Regions from separate parts of the Homo sapiens genome. Here region 1 is linked to region 2. The links are contacts of gene promoters, found by promoter capture Hi-C in human tissues and cell types (Jung and others, 2019). All regions are on one chromosome and are shown on one strand. Each heading gives the region's core, a stretch centred on a gene start or on the middle of the fragment in contact. The rest is flanking DNA. Distances are from core to core; before and after follow the strand shown.

Region 1 (4,251 bases), core at 639-3,138, 370 kb after region 2:
GGGTTTTCTAGACCTGTTAGCTGGAAGCATGGGGAGCACCATTTCTGGACGCTCGTGCTGTGTCGGACTTCAGCCATCTCCACCACACAGGTACAGCACCCTTAGTGTCTTGCTGGATGTAATAGTACAGGGACTTGCTATACTTTCTCTTGAATTCAGACCTAATTTTCAACATGTCCACTTCATTGTGGGAGACCATGATTCTGATCAGGACCTTATCTTGAGTCCCCATGCCCATTATGGAGTCGTACAGCCGGTCAGCGAAATACAGGGGCTTGTTCTGAATACACTGGACCAGGTTCAGGAAAGAATTTTCCAGGTCTCCTTTAACCTCTTTCTTGATGCTCTCCAACATGTCATAAGGACTGTAGCTCTTGTACCTATCAAATACTTTCTGGAAGTGGGACATGCTCCGCTCGGTCATGACGCTGATCCACTTGGGAACTTCAGTTCCTTTCCTCTTCACCCCAGCGTCATAGAGATCCCGGGCATCTTGGTCAATCAGTTCATAATCAATGACAGAGCCATCCTCTGCTCTTCTACCCTTTGCCAGGGCAACCATCAGCTTGCAGAAGTCACCAGATGTGTCCGAAATAATGTCCTTCTCCAGATCAGTCTTGTACATTTCCTTGTAGACTCTGTTAATTTCCTGCAGCTCTTGGTTGGTTCTTGAGCAGATGATCTCAATGAGGGAGTCCTTGTTGGTTCCCAGCCCCTTCATGGAAGATTTTAGCTCAGAAGCATCATACTGAGCAGGTGTCTTTAATAGGCCCAAAGCCACTATCTAGGTGGCCAGATAAGGCTGACTTAAGTGCTGATACAAGTTCCTTTTTGGTCCTTCTCTGGTAGGTGAAGGCAATATCCTGTCTCTGTGCATTGCTGTGGTTAGTCAAAATGTTGACAGTGGTGATCTCATCCACACCTTTGGTCTTGATGGCCATTTCAATGTTCAAAGCATCCTGCTCAGCATCAAATTTGGTGTAGGCTTTGACTGACCCAAATGCACTTGGGAGTGTAGAGTGTTCACCCTCCAAGCTGAGCTTGCACAGGATTTCATGAACAGCAGATATTTTGAAGGAAGCTGGGCTGGGCACCAAGACCTGAGAGCGTCCCCAGATGCTGAGCTGAAAATATATTATTTTATGCCCCTCTCCCCTGCCCCACCTCTGCAAACTACCACCTTTCCTCCCTAAAATATATGAGGAGGGAGGTCGTGCTAAGTTGGCATCTTAGGTCATTATAGGACCTTCACCCCATCCTTGAGAATCTCATCCTTGGGAACTCTTCTTGCATTTCAAGTGGAAAAAGATGCAACTAATATTGACTAAGTGCTAGGCACTATGCTGTGTTATAGGGTGCAATGGTGTACAGGACAGATGTTGCTCCTGCCCTCAAGCAACTTACAGTGTAGTGAAGGATACAGACAGTTAAATAAAGTATCATGTGTTAAAGGATGGGGTTTTCTAAAGGATTTTAAAGAGAAAACATGATTCATGTGAGCCCAAAATGTAATTATCTTCACCACCAAAACCCAGAAGAAGCCATGTGTGTATTGGGGAAAAAAGTGTTATGTAAAGGATCAGGAGAACCAGGTTTTATTCTTCCCCCTGTCTCTGATGATCTCGGTAATGTGTCTAGCTTCAACTTTCTCATCTATAAAATGGGGATGATAATGTTTGTCCTGCTATCTCATGGGATGGTATGTGAGAAAATGTACATGAAAGTGCTATAAATATAATTGAACATTTTGTTTTCCAGTGATACAATGGGGGTTGTAATTTACTCACTCATTAATAACTTATTCATGCACTTTTTCATCCAGCAAACATTTGTTAAGCACCTACTTGATTGAAGATCCTGTGTTAGATCTTACACTTGGCTCAGTTTCATCTTGTTGCATGATTCCATTCAAAACATCTAGATTTATTTAGCATTAACTTCTTTTTTTTTTTTTTTTTTGAGATGGAGTCTTGCAGGCTGAAGTACAGTGGCATGATCTCAGCCCACTGCAACCACTGCCTCCTGGGTTCAAACAATTCTCCTGCCTCGGCCTCCTGAGTAGCTGGGATTACAGGCATGCGCCACCATGCTCAGCTAATTTTTTGTATTTTTAGTAGTAGGGATGGGGTTTCATTATGTTGGCCAGGCTGGTCTTAAATTCCTGACCTCAAGTGATCCACCCACCTTGGCCTCCCAAAGTGCTGGGATTACAGGTGTAAGCCATTGTGCCCGGCCAGCATTAATTTCATATTAAGTTGGAGTGGGTGGTGAGAGGAAATCTGCATTTATTGATCCCCTATTTCAGTCTAAGGGTTCACCTTATGTAATCTTCCTGGAGGGGTAGGTGGAAGTGACCAGGAAGAATATGGGTGAGAAGCTGTTGAATTAAAAATTCATTTTGTGCTTCATAGGCTAGACTTGCATCTGGAAAAACAAAATGATTTAATTATGGAATTATAGAATAATTGTTAAATTGATTATAATTACTTTAAAAATTCTTGTTATTCATTCTACTAGCTAATATGTAACCATCAAATGAAATCTTTTACATTAAAGTAGATAGAAAAATATTTTATAAGTATTATATGTGTTTTGTGTTATTTATATTTGTTATGAAAGAACTAGTTTTTATTATATATTTAGAATACTTTAGAGAGAGAGAAGAGACTTTCTACAAATGAAACAGAATTTACTGAAAAGCTTGAAGAGTAAGGCATGATCCCAAATTATTTCTAACTTCTGGAATTGCCTTAAGACACTTTACAAACACTTGAACATTGCAGCATAATGACAATCTACTGTAGTGCTGCATCACCATCAAGATATTTCTAGTTTAACTGTTGGTGAAAATAGTTGGCATCAATTGTCTTCCCAAGTATATGCTAGTGGTGTCCTTTTAATCTTCAGGAGTAACACACTGATTCTGCTGTGCTTTCAGGTAGAGTTTAAAAAATAATAATAATCAATAATCTCCAATACGACAAAAGAGGACCGTAAGAATCAGGAGATGTTACCAGGAATCCCAACCAGCCATTCAGAAACCAAGCCATAGAGCTTAAAGAAAAGATTTTTTAAAAACAAATATTGCAAAATAAAAATGGTAGTGCCTGTTTCGTTTAGCTTCTTTCAAAAATATATAAGCAATGTTAGACAAACAGACATTCCTCTGACCTTGTGATTTAATTTACATGTGGGCAACAGACTTGAGCTCTCCTTAAATTCAAACCAAGAATAAGAGCTGGGCCAACACATTGCCCTTGAGTTCAGCAGAGGTCATGGAACCTCTTTCCAGCAGTGTGGTCTTTTGCAACACAGTCCATTGCTCTTGTGACCTAGTATTAGCAGGTATGGAACATCTCACATTCATGTCAAGCTAAGCATAGAGTCTTCCTTCTCCTTGCTCTGAATGGTCTATTACTATGGAATCCAACTAAATATCTTCCCAAGTTTTAAAATTATACCCCAAAATACAACTATTGCCCATTTCTACTCACACTGAAAAAACGTGTGCTTATTTCTGTAAAGAACAAAAAGTGTTAGTACTTTTTCCTCATATTTTCCCTCCTCCAACATCATGTCCATATTTTCAAAAGGAAAACAGACTCTTTTTGACTAAGACACCTCCTTGACTAGTACTAAAGCACTATTTTCTCTGTTTTTTTTTCTTTTCCTTTTATAAGCTGCTACTGTCTGCATGGTCTTCTGAATAGAATAGGCATCATTCTAGCAGGATAGACAAAAGGCTAGAGGAAGGAGAGCAGCAGGCAGTTTTTGTCCCTACCTGGACCACAAAGACAGTAAATCAGTGTTCATCTATTCTGTTCAGGTGCTTTTTAGCCCCTTCTCTCCTGTTTTTCAGTATTTCTTTCCCTTCCTTGTATGCCCTCTAAGCCTGGGTGCACTTTCAATTTTATATAAGCAAGAATCTAGAATAGCCTGGGTTTTATATAGTCACTTCTTTGGTTTATGGTCCAGCCTCAGTTAATTGGTCTTCATTTCCTCATCTTGTTTAATTCCATGCTTGTGTTTATCAATTTTTTTTTTTTTTTGTAGAGATGGGTTCTTACTGTGTTGCCCAGGCTGTCTCGAACTCTTGGCCTCAAGCAATCCTCCTGCCTCAGCCTCCCAAAGTGCTGTGATTACAGGCACGAGCTATGATGCCTGGCCTATAAAATGTTTTTGATAAATGAAGTTTTTATTCTTTTATTTATTTATTTATTTATTTATTTATTATTATTATACTTTAAGTTT
Region 2 (4,545 bases), core at 440-2,939:
TACTGGGAGATCGAGAGTTGGAAAAACCTTGTTACTGTCCTCAAAGGAAGAGAAGGGTCAGCAGAGAAGTCCAGAGAAGCATAGAGAAGGCCTTAGGGTAGGATGCTGCCAAGGAGATCAAAGGGATGAGGGGCTGAGAATGGGTCACCAGACTTGACTTCTCAAAAAGTAACTGTTTTAGAGTGCATGCTCAATACAGTTGGGGGGAGGCCCACTGTCACGGGGTTGAGGAGGGAGGAGTAGGCAAGGGGTGTGGACTCCCCATTTAACAAGGTCGACAGTAAGAGAAAAGAAGATGCCACTCAACTCCTCACTTTCGATCTGCTGTAATTTAACTTGAGCCTGAACAGTCAATATTCCTTTGGGATTCATATTAGCTCCCTGAGCATGACATTGTCTTTCTCTTTATTACATTTTCTTATTCCTTAAGATTTTAAGATTTTCTTAATTGGATCCATTTCTCTTCATGCACCATCAATGGCCAAGAAATGGGCTATTGGCAGGCACAGTTTTGGTTTTGGGGTTGATTGGTTTGTTTACACTAATAGTTTCTCTTTCTCGATCCAAGGCTTGACCAAGGAGGTCAGGAATTCTGTCCTGGGAGTTCAGGGACTGAGGACCAGGATGGAGGAAGCAAAAGGCGTCAGGCATTAGGCTGGAAACGTCTTGGTCGGTTATCTAGGATCAAAGAGTCAAAGGTAGCGATGACTTCATCCCCGTAGAGGGCGCCTCCCTACCCCGACAGTGGATTTTCGGTCAGCCGGTTTGCCCGGGATGTTTTCTTTGACTACTTGCTTCTCACTGGCGCCCCAAGTCACTTTGAAGAAAAAAAAAATGTGATTAAATCGATTCCCCTGTTTCTTTCTGTGAGGAGTGTGCCTTTCCCAGACAGCGTGCGTTCATTCGATGAGGCCTGGCAAAATTTTTGAGGGGTCTTTTTACGCTTTAATACAACCTAAAGGTTTCTGTTACCATCATCATTGAGAATTAAAAACAAAAACAAAATAAAAAACGGTAACAAATTTACAGCTTGGCAGGCCCCAGGGAGGAGCTGACCTTTGCGAAGCTCTAGCGCAGCCAGGTTTCAGCTGTAGGGGTTGGGACAGGTCAGTTCGCCCAAGTGCTGCTAGCTCTCCAGGGAGAAGCAAGTGTTGGGGCAGAGGGTGGTCTGGCGCGTGCGTCGGGGGGCGTGTGCGGGTGTGTGTGTGTGTGTGCGCGCGTGTATATAAGAGTGTGTGCGCGCCCGTGTGCACAAGAGAGGGTGCCTGGGAGGCTGTCGCAAAGGCTCCTTTGTGAAAGGCACTTGCAGGTTCAGAAGCCAGCTTGGCGCCTCCTCTCGCCCGTTCCCCGAGGACACCTGGCTCTTCTGGGCAGCCCAGCTATCTCCGTCTCCTGCCGCCCCTACTTCTCTCGGTGGCCCCCGGCCTAGCCCCGCACCAGCCTTCGGGTGCGGGAAGCAGTGTGCCCCGAGGCGTCTCCCCCGGGGCCCCGCGCAGGTGAAGGTGAGCGCGTGGCGGTGACGGTGGCGCGCGTAGGGTGGAAGGGGAGGCGAGGGAGGGGCGGAGCAGGAAAGGGCGCGCTGCCCTTCCCGGCCGGCCAGGAGCAGCGAGGCCGCAGCTTTGTTACCTGAGGCTGCCGCTGCGCCCCGCCCCGCCCTGCCCCCTCGCGCTCAGGGTTGGCTGGGCCTGCAGTGACCGGGAGGAGGCGGCTACGCCGACACAACGGCGGGAGGCTGCAGCGGTCTGCGCGCCGGGAGCGGGGGCGCGCTGGCCGCGGGTGAGTGCGGGTCGGGCGGCCGAGGCGGGGGCGACCGCGGCGCGGGACACGGGGAGCTGGAGCCCCGCCGCTCGGGAGGGTCAGGGTTGGGGTGTTGTCCGGGACCCGAGGCTGAGGCGCCGAGAAGCGCGGCTGATGGGTGCCGGGTCTCGGCTTCCTCCGAGCCTCACCGGGAAAGCTGGAGAGGAGGTTCCAGTTCCCTCCACATCCACCCCGGTGACTTTGGCGGCCGCCCTTACCCGGCCACGGAGAACAGCGATCGGTCCCTGGAGGCGAGGACGCGCCGGTGTGGACCCGCGTCTGGAGAACGAGCTGCATCGCCAAGGCTGCTGCGGGTCGCACCTGGGCGGTTGACTATTAGTCGTGGCTAAGACTTTCAGATCAACCGCCCCCTAGTTTATCCCGACCCTTGGGAGACAGCGGCGTCCCGCACGGAATGCGCAGCCGCGGCGCCGCGCTCGGTTCCCTAGCCAGCCGGGGGCCACGCCTGGCCCCTGACACAGTGGTGGGGCGGTGGCGGGGACCTAGTGCGGTGGTGCGGACCGAGGACCAGGCGCTTCTCGCCCCGACAAACTTGCTCCGGCCGCGCGAAGTTCGGATTGCAAGTTGCGCCCCGCGCCTGCAGGAGTGTGGGGAGGGGGAGGAAGCGGGTGGGCTGGGGATCAGCCTCCAAACAAGGGGTGTCCCCAGCTCTTGGAGAGCGGGTTCTGACCGGTTTCAAACGCCAGGAGTCTCCCCTCTGTTTTTCTCAGCGGCTCGACCCGGCTCCCTTTTGGCAGAGCCGCAGTGCGGCCGTGAGGCTTTTCCCCCGCGCCTGCGACCTGGATGGGGGACGTGGGAAGATGTCGCGGCGGAGGCTCCGGGTGGGTTGGGAGCGCGCGGCCGCCGCAGACCCGGTGTCTGCGAGCCGGAAGACCCCCCCTTTCGTTTCATTCACACGGACACCTCCCCTAGTTAGCCGTCTCCCACCCAACTTCTGGGCGCAGCGTGCTAAACCCCCGCAGAGGGGCTGGCGCCCTGGGGGGCGTGGCGTGGGGAGCGTGGGCTTTCCAGCGTGGGCCCCTCGGGGAGGGGGGCGGGGCCGAGACCCCCTCCAACTGGAGGGGCCGGGAATGGGCGAGCGGGTGCGGCGGCCGACCCAGCAGCTGCAGCCGCCGGACGGGAGAGCGGTCGGCGCTGCGGAAGGCCGAGGGTCGTGCAACGCCCGCGCTGGGCGCCCGCCCCGCAGTCCCCGCCCCGCAGGCCGCGGCTTCTCTCCCCGCCGCAGAGCTGGCGCGGCGCGTGTGGGCGTCGATCTCAGCGCGCACCGGCGCCCCACCCTCGCGCCGCGACGCCCTTCTGCCCGGCGCTGATAAGGACGCAGCTGGGGCTCCGCGCGGCCCGTGGGCCGCCCACTCGCGTTCAGTTTGCTGACCCCAGCGCGGCTCCCCGGGGATTCGCGGCCCAGCCGGTGGCGGCTGAGCCGGTGGCTTGTTGGTGAGTGGCTCGGGCGGGGACCGGGGTGCCGGGTTGGGGATGTAAGGAGGCTGCGGACAGCTGTCTAACGCAGAGAGCTGGTGAACTACTACGTATCCAAACTTGAAAGAAGTGGTGTCCCAGGACCCCCCAGGCCGAATTTCTTCCGGACTTAATGGTCGGTTTTCAAACTTCCGTGTGGACAGAAACGACCTCCGGGATTCGGCCGTCTGTGACCCCCTTCAACTGACCCACAGTTGTCTTCCTGGAAGGAGCAGCCGGCGCTCCCTTCCCTCTCTCTAGAGCATCCTTTGGCACGCATGTGCTTTTTTTTTTTTTTTTCTTGGTTTTGGGACAGTGAGAGAAACTGAAAATGAACATTCAAATACAGGCGTTTTTCCTCTGCTCTCGGGTGTTGGTCTCGGGCGCCTATGAATATTTACATTGTGCTGCAGATTGAAGGCGCTTACTGGGAACGCGTTGTCCTGGGTTCTTTCACTACTGCCTGGAGCACAGGCAGACGGAACTCACAGAAGAGCTGGACGGTCCGGCTCTGGCCCGACTGCGTAATTGTACCGACTGACATTCTGTGTTTAATAATCAAGAAAGCTTTTGAAAGATAAGTGGTGGTGGAGGAGCCTTTTCCCGAATTAGTGGAGTGGGAGTAAAAATTCCATAGTTTAGAATTGTCCGTACTTTCCCCATCCTTTTCTTCTCTCCCAAATACAATAAAATAGGGCTGTGTGTTTCTCTACCTCTGCTCTCCAAACTCGGCTTGTTCTACCCTGGTTTGTCATCAGAAGCATGTGGGCCAGCCCTTCCTGCCCCCACCTCTTCTGTGGCACATGCCAGGAGTCAAGGAGAAAGGTTTTCTGGCAGGTTTTCCTTGATGTTCCTTTTGATTATTGTTGACCAAAGGAGTGAGTGACCAGCTGAGCACCAAGACCCTCATTCTGAGCACCAGAACCACTGGTGCAGAACCACTCATTCTGAGCACCAGGACCGCTGGTGCAGAACCACTCATTCTGAGCACCAGGACCACTGGTGCAGAACCACTCATTCTGAGCACCAGGACCACTGGTCCTCGTTCAGGAAAGCCCTGAGCTCCAAACTGACGGCCAGGAACATGCTCTCCCCTTAAATACACTGTGAGATGAAGCCTATATACTCTTTTTTCTTGGCTCCCTTCAAGAGACTAGAACGTCTTTTTTTTGGTTATTGTTGTTTTGTTGTTGCGACGGAGTCTGGCTCTGTCGCCACGCTGGAGTGCTGTGGCGTAATCTCGGCTCACTGCAACCTCCGACTCCCTGATTC

The links. The method cuts DNA at HindIII sites, captures the fragments that hold promoters and counts their contacts. A contact is called where the count stands out against the background at its distance.
Region 1: a contact is called between a fragment that was not itself captured here and the fragment with the promoter of FHDC1 in region 2, in 1 of the 25 tissues and cell types used here (lymphoblastoid cells).

Annotation. Positions count from the first base shown.
Region 1 is chr4:153,307,693-153,311,943 of GRCh38, forward strand. All of the region lies in intron 6 of TRIM2 (tripartite motif containing 2), which reads left to right. It also overlaps the pseudogene ANXA2P1. Among named protein-coding and RNA genes, the nearest start is that of MND1, 35 kb to the right of the region's middle. The HindIII fragment of the contact is 6,924 bases long and covers 1-4,251 here.
Region 2 is chr4:152,934,634-152,939,178 of GRCh38, forward strand. It overlaps FHDC1 (FH2 domain containing 1), which reads left to right and starts at 1,690. Exons shown (of 12, transcript NM_001371116.1): 1 at 1,690-1,776. LOC729870 (a long non-coding RNA gene) reads right to left here and starts at 2,204. Exons shown (of 2, transcript NR_136614.1): 1 at 2,016-2,204; 2 at 1-817. RefSeq lists silencers at 1,646-1,735, 3,068-3,327. The HindIII fragment of the contact is 7,704 bases long and covers 1-4,545 here.